Linked DNA regions of Homo sapiens: regions 2, 3, 4, 5 and 6 are each linked to region 1. Evidence: promoter capture Hi-C in 16 types of primary human blood cells and fetal thymus (Javierre and others, 2016). All regions are on one chromosome and are shown on one strand. Each heading gives the region's core, a stretch centred on a gene start or on the middle of the fragment in contact. The rest is flanking DNA. Distances are from core to core; before and after follow the strand shown. Region 1 holds the start of BTK (Bruton tyrosine kinase). Region 2 overlaps BEX4 (brain expressed X-linked 4). Region 3 has its middle 53 kb from the start of RAB40AL. Region 4 overlaps ARMCX5-GPRASP2 (ARMCX5-GPRASP2 readthrough). Region 5 overlaps ARMCX5-GPRASP2 (ARMCX5-GPRASP2 readthrough). Region 6 overlaps ARMCX5-GPRASP2 (ARMCX5-GPRASP2 readthrough).

Evidence for each region. The method cuts DNA at HindIII sites, captures the fragments that hold promoters and counts their contacts. A CHiCAGO score of 5 or more calls a contact.
Region 2: a fragment that was not itself captured here is called in contact with the fragment with the promoter of BTK in region 1 in 1 of 17 cell types (M1 macrophages); the score reaches 5.2 in M1 macrophages.
Region 3: a fragment that was not itself captured here is called in contact with the fragment with the promoter of BTK in region 1 in 1 of 17 cell types (M2 macrophages); the score reaches 5.4 in M2 macrophages.
Region 4: a contact is called between a fragment that was not itself captured here and the fragment with the promoter of BTK in region 1, in 1 of 17 cell types (M1 macrophages). The highest score is 6.0, in M1 macrophages.
Region 5: a contact is called between a fragment that was not itself captured here and the fragment with the promoter of BTK in region 1, in 1 of 17 cell types (neutrophils). The highest score is 5.1, in neutrophils.
Region 6: a contact is called between a fragment that was not itself captured here and the fragment with the promoter of BTK in region 1, in 1 of 17 cell types (M0 macrophages). The highest score is 5.7, in M0 macrophages.

What each region holds. Positions count from the first base shown.
Region 1 is chrX:101,384,814-101,387,630 of GRCh38, reverse strand. BTK (Bruton tyrosine kinase) reads left to right here and starts at 1,440. Exons shown (of 19, transcript NM_000061.3): 1 at 1,440-1,569. RefSeq lists an enhancer at 1,954-2,173. The HindIII fragment of the contact is 7,609 bases long and covers 1-2,606 here.
Region 2 is chrX:103,216,483-103,219,299 of GRCh38, reverse strand. BEX4 (brain expressed X-linked 4) reads right to left here. Exons shown (of 3, transcript NM_001080425.4): 3 at 2,054-2,817. The coding sequence ends at 2,784. Among named protein-coding and RNA genes, the nearest start is that of BEX4, 2.8 kb to the right of the region's middle. The HindIII fragment of the contact is 2,684 bases long and covers 56-2,739 here.
Region 3 is chrX:102,988,998-102,991,814 of GRCh38, reverse strand. No RefSeq gene overlaps it. Among named protein-coding and RNA genes, the nearest start is that of RAB40AL, 53 kb to the right of the region's middle. The HindIII fragment of the contact is 607 bases long and covers 1,037-1,643 here.
Region 4 is chrX:102,671,139-102,673,955 of GRCh38, reverse strand. All of the region lies in intron 4 of ARMCX5-GPRASP2 (ARMCX5-GPRASP2 readthrough), which reads right to left. Among named protein-coding and RNA genes, the nearest start is that of GPRASP1, 21 kb to the right of the region's middle. The HindIII fragment of the contact is 646 bases long and covers 1,151-1,796 here.
Region 5 is chrX:102,654,103-102,656,919 of GRCh38, reverse strand. The region is part of intron 4 of ARMCX5-GPRASP2 (ARMCX5-GPRASP2 readthrough); the gene reads right to left. It overlaps GPRASP1 (G protein-coupled receptor associated sorting protein 1), which reads right to left. Exons shown (of 6, transcript NM_001184727.2): 6 at 1-2,817. Among named protein-coding and RNA genes, the nearest start is that of GPRASP1, 4.0 kb to the right of the region's middle. The HindIII fragment of the contact is 852 bases long and covers 1,142-1,993 here.
Region 6 is chrX:102,605,141-102,607,957 of GRCh38, reverse strand. ARMCX5-GPRASP2 (ARMCX5-GPRASP2 readthrough) reads right to left here. Exons shown (of 19, transcript NR_146584.3): 4 at 2,305-2,476. Among named protein-coding and RNA genes, the nearest start is that of ARMCX5-GPRASP2, 7.0 kb to the right of the region's middle. The HindIII fragment of the contact is 2,962 bases long and covers 1-2,817 here.

The DNA.
Region 1 (2,817 bases), core at 191-2,690:
CCTGTAATCCCTGCATTTTGGGAGGCCAAGGCAGGAGTATCGCTTGAGCCCAGGAGTTTGAGACCAGCCTGGGCAACATAGTGAAACCCCATCTCTACAAAAAGTAGAAAAATTAGCCCAGCACAGTGATGTGTGCCTATAGTCCCAGGTACTAGGGTGACTGAGGTGAGAGGATCACTTGAGCCCAGGAGGTGGAGGCTGCAGTGAGCCATGATCACGCCACTGCACTCCAACCTGGGCTTCAGAGCAAGACCCTGTCTCAAAAAAAAAAAAAAAAAAAAAAGGTCCCAGGGCCTGTTGGGGCTTGGGGGTGAGGGGAGGGATCTTAGAGGATGGGTCAATAGGTGCAGCAAATCACCATGTCACACATATACCTATGTAACAAACTTGCACCTTCTGCACATATACCCCATTTTTTTTGTTTGCTTGTTTGTTTGTTTTTTAGACAAAATAAAGAAAAAAAAATAAGGTCCTGTTGACTTAAAACTTCGGATGAAATTGTAGTGGGACCTGTGATCTGTTTCTACATTAGGATACAGTGCCTTGGGGCAAGGAAATATGGCAGTGCCCGAGGTGTCAAGGTGGGCAGGCAGATCAGTCAGCAGGGGCTCCACCATCATGGTCTGCATTCAATACTGGCTGCATTTCCTAGGAGAATCCCTGGGGGAATCATTGCAGTTGGAGCATAATGTAGGGGGCCCCTGAGAAAACCTCCAGGCTTCAAGTGACATACCTAGTCTGCTTTACCGGTTTACAGGACTCAAGAGAAAGGTGGACATTGAGAGTTAATCCCTGAGGCCAAATCTTAAATGGAGAAAGTCAACATCCACAGAAAATGGGGAAGGGCACAAGTATTTCTGTGGGCTTATATTCCGACATTTTTATCTGTAGGGGAAAAATGCTTTCTTAGAAAATGACTCAGCACGGGGAAGTCTTGTCTCTACCTCTGTCTTGTTTTGTCCTTTGGGGTCCCTTCACTATCAAGTTCAACTGTGTGTCCCTGAGACTCCTCTGCCCCGGAGGACAGGAGACTCGAAAAACGCTCTTCCTGGCCAGTCTCTTTGCTCTGTGTCTGCCAGCCCCCAGCATCTCTCCTCTTTCCTGTAAGCCCCTCTCCCTGTGCTGACTGTCTTCATAGTACTTTAGGTATGTTGTCCCTTTACCTCTGGGAGGATAGCTTGATGACCTGTCTGCTCAGGCCAGCCCCATCTAGAGTCTCAGTGGCCCCAGTCATGTTGAGAAAGGTTCTTTCAAAGATAGACTCAAGATAGTAGTGTCAGAGGTCCCAAGCAAATGAAGGGCGGGGACAGTTGAGGGGGTGGAATAGGGACGGCAGCAGGGAACCAGATAGCATGCTGCTGAGAAGAAAAAAAGACATTGGTTTAGGTCAGGAAGCAAAAAAAGGGAACTGAGTGGCTGTGAAAGGGTGGGGTTTGCTCAGACTGTCCTTCCTCTCTGGACTGTAAGAATATGTCTCCAGGGCCAGTGTCTGCTGCGATCGAGTCCCACCTTCCAAGTCCTGGCATCTCAATGCATCTGGGAAGCTACCTGCATTAAGTCAGGACTGAGGTGGGTCTGGGGTATGGCAGGGGCTGGGCAGCAGCAGCAATGTACCTTGCTTGGGACCCCTAAAAACCAGAGAGACAGCATGGCTGGTGCCATTTATCAGCTAGTGGAGGAGGCTGACGGAGGGTGGGAGTGTCATCAGCACAAGGCCCTGGCAGTCCCTTCTGGTGATTAGAGAGGCCGAAAGGGTCCTTTCCGACAAGGGCTGAGGGTGGGCGGAACAGGAAGAGAAAAATGTGACATGAGGTGACCATCCGAACAGGTAGCAAATGTTAGAAAGGGGTACCTCTGGCAAACTTAGTGGAAAAGTAATATTGCAGGGAGCAGTCAGATAAAAACAAGCCCTTCTGTCAAATAGTGCTTGAAGACTCAATAGGGATACATGGGTCAATGAAGCCTTTAGAAAAAGAAATACTAAGAGGCAGATTCTCTGAGAACATGGTAAAAGCTCACGCTCCACGTTATGAAGTTGACCTTTGTGAGCTAGGGAAAGGCCTGGCTAGGCCAGGGTGTAGGCTACCTGCCTTGAGCTGTACCAGGCCAAATGTCGCCAGGGTCAGAGCTGGCTTATTAAAGGACTGTGTGGAAGCTGTGCCAACCTCGTGGTAACAATGGGTAAAAGACTGGGCCAGGAGAAAGCAGCCTCTGCCTCAGCCCAGACAGTGCGGCCAACCCTTGAGGTTGTGGCAAAGGTTTCTCCTCTTACCATTGCCCTCCATGTGCATGGCTTGCTTTTCTCTTGTCTTCATTATTTCTCCTTTCCTTTCCTCCTCTCCAACCTCCTCCTCTTCCCACTCATCCTCTTTTCTCTACCTATATCCCCTCTTCATTATACCCTCCTCTGTTCTGTTGATTACCAGACCCTGACATACAGTTAGCACTTAACAAATAATTGCCGAATTGCATTGACTTTTTCTTGCTCCTTTCTTCCCCCGCTCTTTTCCCTTTTCCTTTCCCTTTCCATTTCCTCCTCCCTGCCTGCCTAGCACCTTCCCCATAAGGTGGTTGTGAGCAGTAAATGTGCAAATACATGTAAAGCTTTTAAAACAGGGCCTGGCAATAGTAAGTGCTGGATCTCAGTATTTGCTATAATTTTTACTCTGCCTCAGACCTGCCAATGTCCCCCAGAGGGCCTACCTAGAGCAAATAATATGACATTTAGAATAAAAGTGATTGGTGACCCCAATCAAGACATCCTTGGATAAGTTGCCCAGACTCCAGCCTCTCTGGAGCCTCAGTTATTTGATAAAA
Region 2 (2,817 bases), core at 148-2,647, 1.8 Mb before region 1:
TCTTAAGTTCTGGAAGATTTGCCAGGCATTAGTTGACAGGCATCCTTCCCAAGCTTTGCTCCAAAATCCATAAAAACATGCACATTTTCCTCAAGAAACTAAAATTTTACAAATATGAATGTATAAACCACTGATAGGGATGAATGTGTTAGCCCTTTTTCTTCACTCTTGGTTTATTTGCTTTTGTTGGTTTTTATAAAAGAGTCATTATACTTTCTTGCTAGTCTCTTTAGAGGCATTCACTGACATCTCTCTGTTGTCACCTTAAAAAGACAAAATGTATTGCCCACCAAGATCAAGGAAAGTTGACCCTCCCATGGGATGTATAAATGTGTTCGCTGTGATAGCTCTGTTCTTCTTCAGTCACCTGATCCAGCCCCCTCTAGCTTTTTCTAGAAAGTTCTCTCTTTACTCCTCCACCCTTGCAGCAACACAGAGGTAAGGGAGTTTTCTTCAGTTCTTCAATCACGCTCCTGATCATGTTCTGGTCACTGAACGTTATGTCCTCTAAAGTTTTGTGCTCGTCGCCTACCATCACAGAAACTCCCACGATAGGAGTCTTAATTTAGTTCTCCTTCAACCAATTACATTGTGACCCCGTTCCCTGACCTTTACCATTTCCAGCAAATTCTGTTCTTATCATCCCACTCTCCCAGAAACACCAAGGAGACAGGGCTCATTTTGGTACTTCAAAAAACCATATTCTGAACCCAAGCATTGACACTTTTATTTCTTCCAGAAAGTCTGTCCTTATTCCTCATTCTCCCCCAAAAACCCCAGTGAGGAGGCTTCAGCTTTCTTTCAACTAATCATGTTCTGATCTCACACCCCCACAGCTAGCTTTTTTTGTGAGGGAGGTAGATTGAGGCTACTTTGGGAAATCCACAATTGGTCTTTGCCAGAAGGCATAGTACTCATTTTCAGAGGAACCAAAAGATCATTCATGGACTCTACTCAGTCAACTAGCCTTTTTGAAGTGCCTGAGTTCACCACTGTGCATTTTCAAATCAGACTCTATATCATCCTCTTCCTCTAGACAGGTGAAAGATCACTCCAGCTCCAAAATTATCTGAGGCAGAGTTTCCCTTAAATGTGGTTCTCAGTTGAACATGCAGGAATTCTGATGACTAAATAGTGTGAAGTTCATATAAAGTGATTTTTGCATAAGTTGTATATGCTTTTCCATTTACACTGATTGGCAATCAGTACATAATGCAAAAATTTCCAAATAATTCTTTGTGGAGGCAATGTGGTGAGAAGACAAGCACCCTGAAGCACCAAGGCTGTGGTCACAGCTTTCACTAATTGGCTGTATGACCTTAGGAAAAATCGCTTTCTTAACAATTCTTCACTTGTGAAACCAAGTTTGCACCAAATAAGTGATTTTCATTCTTTTTTCACTGTGATCTAGTTAGAAATACATCATAAAGGTGGCAATATTTACTACATAGAACACATTATTTTCTCCAAAACAATTCTTAACACTACTCACGGGTGATAGGATGACTTTTGTTCTCTTTTTAAAAAATTGCTTGTTGTAACCCACAAAACTGATTTCAAGAGCCATAGAGTGGCAATCCTAACTTTGAACAACACTAGAGGATCTTACTTTTTTTATCCCTCAATATTCTAAAAATTAAAGTGTACTTGAGATGTAGAAAAACAGTGTATAGAAAAACAGCCCCATTCTTGCTGAGTCTCTTTTACCATCCTCAGCTTGTCATCAAGTTACAAAAGTCAAATATTCTGCATCTCCAGATGATAAGGTCCAATAGAAAATGGCCCAGGCTGGATTCCCCCACCCCCAAGATATTCAGCAGGAGTTAGCCTTGGTACTTAACATCTCTAAGCCCCAGTGACCTCATCTGTAAAAGTGGGATAACAATACAGATTTTATAGGTTGTTCTAAGAATAAAATGAGATCCTGGATGTGAAACTGCTGACAGGGGTGATGAATTCTGAGTTCCTCAGGCTGTGACCTTCAGGCATGTTTTGCTTTGCACAGTGAATAACTTTGCCACTGTCCCTACCACTCCTATAATCATCAGTCTTATTTTAAGGTCTCATACTTTTCTTTTTTAATTACTTGCCCATCAAAGTCAGATTTATCTTGATATTGTTTATTGTTTACGGTTATGACACATTATATATATACACACACACACATATGTATATAGTTACGTACACACACACCAATGGCACTGATTTTGGTACACATCAGAATTACTTAAGAGAGTTTGTTAAAAATGGAGATTCTGGAGCCCCACTCTGTGAGTCTGGACGATAGGTCCTACATTTTTAAATGCCCCTGCCTGCCCCCAAGGTGTTTTTATACAGATGGTAGACTCACTCTGAAAAACACTAGAACATACATTCTTAAAATATCAAACATTGAATTCTGGGTATGATCATTCTTTTTTGGTCAGGGACAAGAAAAAAACTGTCAAAGACAACTGAGATTTTGAGTCCAGGTAGCCGGAGGAGGAAAAGTAATACTTACAAAAATAAGGACTGGAATGAAAAAGGAAGATGATGGAATACAGACTGCTTTTTGAACTGCTTTATGCATTTCATATTATGAAAAGAGTATTTTTCCTAAAATAGGTGAATTGCCATGCTGACCGTAACTTTTAGGCTGAGACAAAACAATATTCAATTAGAATTCTAATTTCCATTAGAAACTGGTAAGTGTAAACCCCAAAAGGCTTACAGAAAAAGTAAATCACAAAAATACAAGCTTGTAAAGCAGTGTTCACATTAACCTCAGCGAAAACTTTTAGGATTCAAGGTATGAGGCAAAAGTCATAATGGTTGTCA
Region 3 (2,817 bases), core at 91-2,590, 1.6 Mb before region 1:
AAGGGGTCTCCAACCCTTAGTCACAACCTTTCGGAAATATGTGTTCTTCTGACCCTGTCATTCAAAGAGACATTGAAAGTACTGGGTATTCCTGACTTATGCAAATCTTCAAGGAGGACAGGGAATTGGAATATTAACTCAAGACCTTAGAACTTTAAAAACATCCTGTGGCCTATGTTTTGAAACAGCTCGACATGATAACTAATGGCTGGCCTATCTGCCTAAGGGCAGTGGCTGCTACCTGTGACATGTTGCAGGAAGCTGAAAACTGACAGTGTATACTATGCATTATACGTTATCTTCGCTTGAGCAGAAAGGAGGCTATTGGTTAATTGTTTGGCCAACTGGGAAAGTACCAAGCCAGGCTTCTAGAAAACCCAAATGTAAGTCTTAAGGCTGTTTCTAGTCTGAATCCTGTCACCCTGCTACCAGGGAATCTCCAGCCTCCTCATCATGACTGCATTAAAATAATTGATCAGGTTTATTCCAGTAGTCCAGACCTCAGATTTGCCATTGACAAAATCCAAAGATTGCTTCACTGATGGGAGCAGTTTCATGGAACAAGGAGTCAGAAGGGCCAGACATGCTATAGTTACTACCCAGCACATAGATGAAGCCCCTGGACGTCCGCCCAAAAGGCTGAGCTCATTGCTTTAACCAGAGCTATACATTTGGTTAAGGGAAGGAAAGTCAACATTTATATTGACTCTAAGTATGTTTTCCTAATATCCCATGCTCACCGGGTAATTTGGAAGGAAAGTTGGCCTTTTTAATTCTAATAATAAAGCATGGTCCTCAAATTCTTGAATTATTGGAGACAGTAAAAATGCCCAAAGTAGCAGCAGTTATTCACCGTCAAAGACACTGGACACCCATGTTGCATAAATAAATATTAAGACTGACCTAGAGGTGAAAAATGTGGTCAGGGGGCTCACCACTCAGACTGGCTCTTGTTCCTACTCTGTTTAGATCCGTATTTCCCAGGATATTCAGAGTCTTATCTTAAAAGAGCTGAGCAAGGAGGATTTTCTAAGCTTGCTGATCATAAATGGCTTACAAATAATGAAGGAAGAAGTTATCCTTCCAGAAACTTTAATTAGACCAATTCATGAACAAATCCAAAGCACCCATTATAGTGGGAAGCTACTCTATGCTGGATACAGCCTTATCTTTCGGCCTAACTTGCAATGAACAATACAAACTGTAGTCCAAAGTTGTCCTATCTGCTTGAAAAAATAACCCAAAGCCCCAGGAAGGCACAAAAGTTCCCTTTAAACAAGGAAATCAATGGAAAGTAACTCATCCTAGGGAATACTGGCAATTAGATTTCACTATAATGCCCTGAGCCCCTGTATATTTGATGCTGGTTTTTGTCAGTACCTTTATAGGTTGGGTTGAGGCTTGCCCCACCAAGACTGAGAAAGCTACTGAAGTTGTAAAGGCTCTAATGAAGCATATTCCTTGATTTAGGACTCTTACACACTCTCCAAAGTGACAATGGAGCTGTTTTTATAGCCCGAGTAGCCCAGAAAGTATTGTGGTCACTGAGTACTGATTGGAAACTGCATTTATTTTGGCGACCTCAAACTTCTGGGATGGCTGAAAGAATAAGTAGGACATTAAGGAAGTCTCTTTCTAAAGCTTCCCAGGAGACAAATCTTACCTGGGAAAAGGTCTTACCCCTTGCCCTGCTGAGAGTATGGGTAGCCCCTAGAGGTGGGTTGGCTCTTAGCCCCTTTGAAATGTTATATAGGCGACCATTTCTCTGACCTGTAGACTCCCCATCTGAGGATTTTTCTTCCCAACAAAAGCTAAATCACATACAAAACAAAAACCAATTAGTCTGAGTTTTTTTCTGACAGATTAGTTCCCTAGTGATATGCCTCTCTACTCTGACACTGAAGGACCAAGCCCTGCTGAAAACCTGGTAATTCCAGGCTGAAGACGAGTTGCAACCACAATGGATTGATCCTTGAGGTGCTGCTGACTACCTACTCATCTGTTAATTTGGCCAGTGTTAAGCTGTATATTTATCATATTTGAGAAAACCAGTCCCTCTGGGTTCCCTCCAGGGGAAACAGTCATGGTCTTATAAACTTCTGACAGCCTTAATATTCAAAGCCCTGTCAAAGACTCTAGATAAGAAATCATGAAGGGAATATGCACTTTTCAGGTTATTGTTCTCTAGATCTTTCCTGCTTCTAGATGGGAAGGTAACCCATTAACCCATATTTCACAAACTCTTGCTCTATCAGTCAATTTATCCCACAGTTGACTTTTGGATAGGCTTAGGATTGTTCTTAAACTCCCTAGGGGATCTTCTCCATGTTCTACATTATTAATCACTCTAGTTCCAAAAAGCCAGAAACTAGCCAGGTACTTGTGAGTATTTCCAGTTACAGGTATGTTTTCATTCTTCATTATCCCACGATGCCCCTTAGAATGAAGCAGCTAGAAAGATCAGTGACTAGATTCCCCATGATTGAAGACTAGATAAATAGAAAGGGAAGGGAAACTGGCCTACTTTTCTCATAGAGCTGATGTTTATAGTTTTTTTGAATGAACATAGAAATTGACCTTCCTGGTCTTAAAATTTGAGCAACTTACTTTTGTATAATCTGAGTTCCTTTCTCAGAAAACCTACTGTTAGAGCTCCCAGGTAGCATCAGAGAGCTAAAACTTTATAGATCACAGTATCCAGACAGTGACGCACCAGACTTCTTATCTGATCACCTGCTGCCCGTTGACCAACTCTTCTTCCATAATCCGCCTCCCTAATTCCTGTACTCCCACCTCTATATGAACCCATAACTTTAG
Region 4 (2,817 bases), core at 224-2,723, 1.3 Mb before region 1:
TTGCTAAACATGAGCTTTTCCCACACAGATGGATCTATTTTTCTGTTATGAGGTTATTGAGCTTCTGAGCTGGTATGGTCTAGGGCCAGATATTGTGTACTTCTTTTAATGCCATCAAGGTACTAAGTGTTATTATGGATGGCTTCTTGAGGACATCCAGTAGACCTGGCAACACAGAGACACATCCTTTGGCCTGATCAACAGCCTTTTCCATTTTGAAACTCCAAGAAAGTTTCAAGGGAGTTATAGAAGAATATTAGTGTCCCTCACCACTAATCAATCTAATTGATGGAATATGAAAATAAAATTAATTGGAGATGAAATTAACTAGAGAGCCCAACTATGTATGTGAGTTATGTATATAACATCTCAGATAAGACACAATGCTTATTATAAACTGCAGTAAGTGAACTGGTATGTTTCTAACACCAGAGAACAGTTACCTCAGAAACACATGTGAAAATGACATCATCAATTTCAAAAGAGACATGAGAAATTGTTGGAGTAGGGGCGTATTATTGAATAAATGATACTGGTATTATGTAGAAAAAAATCCATTTCTATTTTCCTCTTCCATTTTTCATTTACCAGCCAAAATTCATTCTAGGTAAATGAGTATTTATTTCTCCTTCCACTCCATTTAAAACACTCATTAAGACATTTAATCTTCCTGGGATTTGTTCATGTGTATTGGAATTTAACTTGTTTTCCCAAATAACTAGCTAATTATTCCAACACCGTTCACTAAATATGCAAAAAAAAAAAAAAAAAAACGTTAACATAGCAGGCCTGAGATTGCTCTCCTTAGAAACTCCTGCTTGCCAGGACGGCCCTGGAGTCTGGGAACTTGGACTAAGGGAGAATTCCCACCATTCCTAGAGCTGATAAGAATGGCTCACTGTACATAAACTTTTTGTGCAAACAATGTGGTTCATGCAAAATACTTTCTTTCCTTCTTGGATTCTGGAATTTTGGCCTGTGCTAGGCAAAGGGCAGATACATGAAAAGCCCCCAGTAAAAATCTTGGGCATTGAGTCTCTAATGTTGTCTTTGGTAGACAAAACATTTCACACATGTTGTCACAATTAATTGTTGGAGGAATTAAGCATATCCTGTGTGACCACACACAGCAAGAGGACTCTTGGAAGCTTGAGCCTATTTTCTTCTAGATTTTGCTCCATGCTTTTTCCCCCTTTGCTGGTTTGGTTTTGTATCCTTTCACTGTAATAAATCACAGCTGTGAGTACAACTATATGCCAAGTCCTGTGTGTCCTGCTAGCAAATCATTGAACATGTGGATGGTCTTGAGGACCCACAGCAGACTGAATATTTCACTTTTTTCCATGAATCTGAACTGTCGTCTTAGTATAAATGCCTATATATGGGCTCTCTGTGTCCCATTTATCTTTTCCTGAGTCAGTTCTACTGTTTTAATAACCATAGGTTGATAAAAAAAATTTTAGATTCCTGCCCAACCTCCAAATTACTTTCCTTTCAAAATTGCTGGACTGTTCATAGGTTTGTGTGTGCACAGAAATTTATAAGGATTTCTTGAACCTCTGAAAACCTCTAAACCAAGGACCTCTAAAGGCAAATGGGGAAAACCTAAAAATATCCACTCACAAGAAAGAAAATACAACTAGGTAATAAACATCTGAAAATATGTTTAACCTCTTTACTAATATCAAAACAACAGTGCAATACTACATTATCCAATTCCATTAGTAAATGACTTAAAAATTAAAAATATATGCCGCTAAGGTCATAAACACATTAAAAACAGTATGTTCTAAGCTTACCATCTCTTTCTAAGACAAACTTTCTAGTGTACAGTCCCATCTCAAAGGAAGTATTTACTTGATTCTGAAGCAAGGTGTTTCCACTAACCTGAACCAGCATTGAATACCTGGGCCAAGGATAAACAAAGATACACAGAGAAGGAAGGATCAGGAATGTTAATGGCAGAATATGAAGATTATCTGAATGGCTGTCCAATCAAACAGTACAAGTTAACCGCTGGAGTGAAGGTATAAACACATTAGATTAGGAAGTGGGCTCAAAAGAAGGTGAAAGTTCATGGAGTTGGTGAGAGGGATCAGGAGTGTCACCATGTAGGGGGTGGATGGCCTTGTAGAAAATATTTGAAGGATCGACAGGCTTTTGACAGACATTATAGCGGGGGAGGGATAACTGGAGGGAAGGGACAAAGTAAGAAAGGTAGCTTCTCATTTGGGTATATACCCAGTAATGGGATGGCTGGGTCAAATGGTATTTCCAGTTCTAGATCCCTGAGGAATCGCCACACTGACTTCCACAATGGTTGAACTAGTTTACAGTCCCACCAACAGTGTAAAAGTGTTCCTATTTCTCCACATCCTCTCCAGCACCTGTTGTTTCCTGACTTTTTAATGATTGCCATTCTAACTGGTGTGAGATGGTATCTCATAGTGGTTTTGATTTGCATTTCTCTGATGGCCAGTGATGATGAGCATTTTTTCATGTATTTTTTGGCTGCATAAATGTCTTCTTTTGAGAAGTGTCTGTTCATGTCCTTCGCCCACTTTTTGATGGGGTTGTTTGTTTTTTTCTTGTAAATCATGCTGCTATAAAGACACATGCACACGTATGTTTATTGCGGCATTATTCACAATAGCAAAGACTTGGAACCAACCCAAATGTCCAACAATGATAGACTGGATTAAGAAAATGTGGCACATATACACCATGGAATACTATGCAGCCATAAAAAATGATGAGTTCATGTCCTTTGTAGGGACATGGATGAAATTGGAAACCATCATTCTCAGTAAACTATCG
Region 5 (2,817 bases), core at 318-2,817, 1.3 Mb before region 1:
CACTATGGCCTCATCTTCATCAGCTAATGTCCTGGACCCACAGTTGCTTCCATTGTCAGTCCTGTTATCTACCTCATCTTCAGCCTCAAACCAAGACCCAACAATGGCCCCTTCCTCATTTTCTGGCTTGGACTCACAGGTGGCCACAGTTCCAGTTTCCTTAATGGCTTTGTCTCTAGACCAGAACCAGGACTCAACAATCATCTCTTCATCATCCTCTGGCTTGGATACACAGCATGGTCCTGCTTCTTCACTGACTTCTTTTCCATCCCAGAACCAGGACCCAAAAATGGTTTCCTCTTCAGTCTCTGACTCCATTTCCTCTACTGCCTGAGATCCAGCCTGTATACTGGCTTCTTCTTCAGGCCAGAACCAGGACCCAACAGTGATTTCTTCCTCCTCAGTCCCAGGCTTTGACTCAAAGCCGACTCCTGCCACTGCCTCCGGACTGGCCTCTTCTTCCCAGAACCAGGACCCAATAATGACTTCTTCCTCTTCAGCTTTAGGACTGGATTTGCTGCAAGACCCAGCCTCTCTTCTAATGGTCTCTTCTCTGGCCCCAAACCAGGACCCAACAATACCTTCTTTCTCAGCTGCTAGCCTGTCTTCTTCTCTAGTCTCAGCAGCTGGCTCTAGTCTGTCCTCTTCTCCAGCCCAGAACCAAGAACCAATAATGTCCCCCTCCTCAGCTTCTGGCCTGGACTCTTCTCTGTCAGTAGCCTCTGAAATGGCTTCATCTTCTTTCCAGAACCAGGAATTGATTATGGTCTCCTCTTCAGTCAGTAACTTGGCCTTTTCTCCAGTCCCATCTATATTACTCTCTTCTGTAGCCCATAACCAGGACCCTATAATGGCCTCTGGCTTTGTGTATTTTCTGGACCAGAACCACGAATTGACAATGTCCTCTTCCTCCTCTGGCCTAGACTTCCAACTTCCTCCACCGGCAGGATACATACAGGGTTCTTTTTCTGCCCAGAAGCAAGACTTATTATTGGTCTCCTCAGCCCCTGCCATAAATCTGCATCTGACACCAGTCCCATGCTTCATACTGACCTCTTCTTTGGCTCCAAAACATGGTATCATGGCCTCTTCCTTGTCCTCCAGGCTAGACTTGCTGTTGACATCACCCTCCACACAAGCTTCTACTCTGGTCCAAAACCAGGACCCAATAATGGGCTCCTCCTCCTCAGCCCCTTGCATGGTGTCACAGCTAGTTTCAGCCCTACAATCCATATAGGTCTGGTTTTCAGCCCAAAACCAGGACCCGAATATTGTCTCTTCTTCAGCTCCTGGCCTGGCCTCTTCTCCGATTCCAGCCTCTATATCAACTTGTTCTCCAGACCAAAACCAGGGACCAATGACCTCTTCTTCCTCAGACCTTGTCCTGGACTCACAGCTGACCCCAACACCAGATTCCACACTGGCCGCATCAATGACCCAGAACCACGACCCAAAAATGGTCTCTTCCTCAGCCTCTTGGTTGACCTCTTCACCAGCCCAGAACCAGGAACCAATAATGACCTGTTCATCATCAGCTGCTAGTATAGATTCAGAGGTGGCCTCAGCCCCAGTTTTCATACTGGTCTTTTCCCTAGCCCCAAATAAGGAATCACCAATACGCTCCCCATCAGTCCTTGGTCTGGATTTACTGCTAGCCCCAGTCCCCATACTGGCCTCTTCTTCAGTCCAGAACCAACTCCCAATTATGGACTCATCCTCCACTTGTAGACTGGACTCTATGCTGGCTTCATCTGCCATGCTGGACTCGTCTGTAGCCCAGAACCAGGTCCCAATGAGGGCTTCCTCCTCTGACCTGGCTTCTTGCTTGGCCCTGGCTCGGGCCTTGGTTTTGGCCTCTTCCTTTGTCATTGCTCTGGCCCTGGCCTCTTTCTTGATCATGGGCCTTGAAAAGGTATTAGCATTTTCTTCAGGCCAGAAACAGGACTCTTTTTTAATTACATCTATAGACCCAGGCATGAAATCAATGCAAGCTTCTCGCTTGGCCCTGTGCCTGGCCCTGTTATTGGCCTCCTTCCCAGCTCTCATTTTGGACCTGAATTTGGCCTCCTTTCCAGCCCCAAACCAGGACTCCAAATGGTCTTCATGCTCAGATCCAGAACTTGATTCAACATAGACTTCTTTCTTAGACCTAAACCTGGACCTGCTATTGGGATCTTCCCTGGGCCCAGACCAGGTATTGGTTTTATCTCTGGCCCAGAACCAGGGTGTCTTAACAGACTCATCCTCAGAACCAGAACTAGATGCAATATAGAGCTCCTGGTTAGTTTGGGACCTAGACATGGTATTAGCCTCTTGATTGGCCATGTGCATGGATCTGTTACTGTCTTTTACCCTATTCCCAGGATGAAATTTTGCAGTGACCTCATCTCCACTCCAGAACAAGGAACTCACAGATTTGTCTACCCATTTGAAATCAGAATTAGGAGAGGCTTCTTGTTTGGATGTAGGCCTAGGACAGCACCAGGACCCCATATTGGTCTCCTCCTTTGACCTAAAAGAAGGCTGGAATCCTGCTTGGTAATGGGCCTTCCTTCTAGGAAAGCTCTCAGTGTCTGTATTAACCAGTTCTCTATCCTCAGACAGGTACTTTGTTTTAGCAACCAAGACAGAATCAGTACTGACAAGTGGAGAGGCTATGATATTGGTCTGGGAGTTTCTCTCTGTCTTAGACAATCTTTCAGCACCAAACCTGGGCTGAGCCCACATCTGGGCTTCTTCCTTAAATCGTGAAACAGGTATTGCCTTGGCCTTACTCTTAGGGCGTGCCCCACCCACTGCACTTGTCTCAACTTTGGT
Region 6 (2,817 bases), core at 209-2,708, 1.2 Mb before region 1:
AGAGAGTGAAGAGATAATCTACAGAATGGGAGAAAATACTTGCAAACTATTCATCTGACAAGGGACTAATATCCAGAATATATAGTCATGTATTGCTTAACCATGTGGATACATTCTGAGAAATGTGTCCTTAGGCATTTTCACCATTGTAAGACTATCATAGATTCAGATTTTCTTAAGATCTTCTAAAAGAAGAAGGGCAAAAAAGCTCTTCTACTTAGAAGAAGAAAAGTACTACTTACAAATACCTAGATGGTATAGCCTACTACATACCTAGGCTGCATAGTATAGCCTACTGCTCCTAGGCTACACACCTGTATAGAATGTTATTGTATTGAATAATGCAGGCAATTGTAAGACAGTGGTAAGTATTCATGTATCTAATCATATAAAAGGTACAGCAAAAATTTGGTATTATATTCTTATGGGACCACTGTCATACATGCAGTCCATCATTGACTGAAACATTGTGTAGAACACGACTACACAAGGAGCTCAAACAGCTAAACAACAAAAACACAAATAATTCAATTTAAAAATTGGCAAATGATCTGAATAGGCATTTCTCAAAAGAAGACATACAAGTGGCCAAAAATTATATGAAAAAACACTCAACATCACTAATCATCAGGGAAATGCAAATCAAAACCACAGTGAGATATCATCACACCCCAGTTAGAATGGCTATTGTCAAAAAGACAAAAAAAAATAACAAATGGTGGTACGGATGCAGAGAAAATGGAACTCTTATACATTGTAGGTGGGAATGTAAATTAGTACAGCCATTATGAAAAACAGCATGGAGATTTCTCAATAAACTAAAAATAGAACTACCATATGATCCAGCAATCTTACTGCTGGGTATGTATCAAAAAGAAAGGATATCAGTATATCAAAGAGATATCTGCACTCTCATGTTTATCACAGCACTATTCACAACAGCCAAGATATGGAATCAATATAAGTACCCATAAACAGATGCAAGGATAAAAAAATGTGGTATATATACACAACAGACCACTATTCAGCCATAACAATGAAAGAAATCCTGTCATTGGTGGAAACATGGATGAACCTGGAGGACATTATATGAAATAAGCCAGGCACAGAAAGATAAATACCACATATTATCATTCACATGTGGAAGCTATAAAAGCTCATCTCATAGAAGTAGAGTGTAGAATAGTGGTTACTATTAGGATGGTGCAAAAGTTATTGTGGTTTTTTTTTTTCAATTAAAAGTTAAGAGAATATAGGGAAAGGAATGGGGTGGGAAAGGTTGGTTAACAGATACAAAATTACAGCAAGATAGGAGGAATAAGTTCTAATGATCTATATAGCAATGTAGGGTGACTACAGTTAACAATAAATAATTATATATTTTCAAATAGCAAGAAAAGATTTCGAATGTTCCCAAAACAAAGAAATGATAAATGTTTGAGGTGATAGAAACACTAATTACTCTGATGTTTAAAACTATACAACTTTTAGAAGAAAACATATGGGTATCTTTGTGACCTTGAATTTGGTGATGAATTCTTAGATATGACACCAAAAGCACCAGCAACAAAAGAAAAAAATAGATAAATTGGGCTTCATTGAAATTAAAAACTTTTGCACATCAAATGACATCATCAAAAGTGAAAAAACCTACAGAACAGGAGAAAATATTTGCAAATCACATAGCTAATAAGGGGCATGTATCCAGAATATATATATTTTAAAACTCCTACAATGCAACAATAACCAAAAACACAATTAAAAATGAGCAAAGAACGTAAACATACATTCTCTAAAAAATATACTCAAATGGCCAATAAGCACATGAAAAGATGCTCAACATCATAAGACTTTCGGGAAATGCAAATTAAAACCACAATGATATACTACTTCACACCTCCTAAGATGGCTATTTAAATAATAATGGAAAATAACAAGTGTCACCAAGAATGTGGATAAATTGGAACCCTTGCATATTGCTGACGGGAATGTAAAATGGTACAGGCACTGTGGAAAACAGCTGGTAATTCCTCAAAAAGCTAAACAAATCATACAACCCAGCAATTCCACGTCTAGGTATATACCCAAAAGAATTTAAATCAGGGACTCAAACAGATACTTGTACTCCAATGTTCACTGCAGCAATATTCATAAGAGCCAAAAGATGGAAACAACCTAAGTGTCCATCAACAGATGACACCTCATGAACAATCTAGGAGATGACTTCGCATCCCACAATTCCCATCCAAGGAGAGACCATCAACTTTGTGCTTTGACACAAATACGTACACACCCCACACTCACCCTTCTCTTTAGCTGATGTTGGAAAATTCCATAGCCATCAACTGATTAAGTGTGTGCTCCACAGGGCATTTGAGACACAGAATTATTTCCAAAGGGTCTGGTCCAATTGTATTTTGATGATCTCCAACACTGAGAGTAGTACCCACAGCTGGTATTACAGGCTACAGGAGTTCTGTGGATTAAAAAATGTTATAAAGAACTTCAAAAATCATCTAAATTGAAGTTTCACATTGCAAAAAAACTACCTTGCTTGTTTCCCTTAATGCACAAGTGTAGCTAACTGTGCTTCATTTAAACTTTTAGATGTACCACAATAGATTCACAACTGATCCTAGTAGAAATTAAACTACAGATAGCTATTAAAAGTAGGGATCCATTACACCATATTGAGATTTTCCACTTTAGACCTTCCCCTAAATGTATAAAAAGTTAGGAGAGGAAGGTCAACAGAAAGACCATTTGTATACTGATCCTAATATTTATATTTCCCAATTCTGGGCAGTAAATTAACAG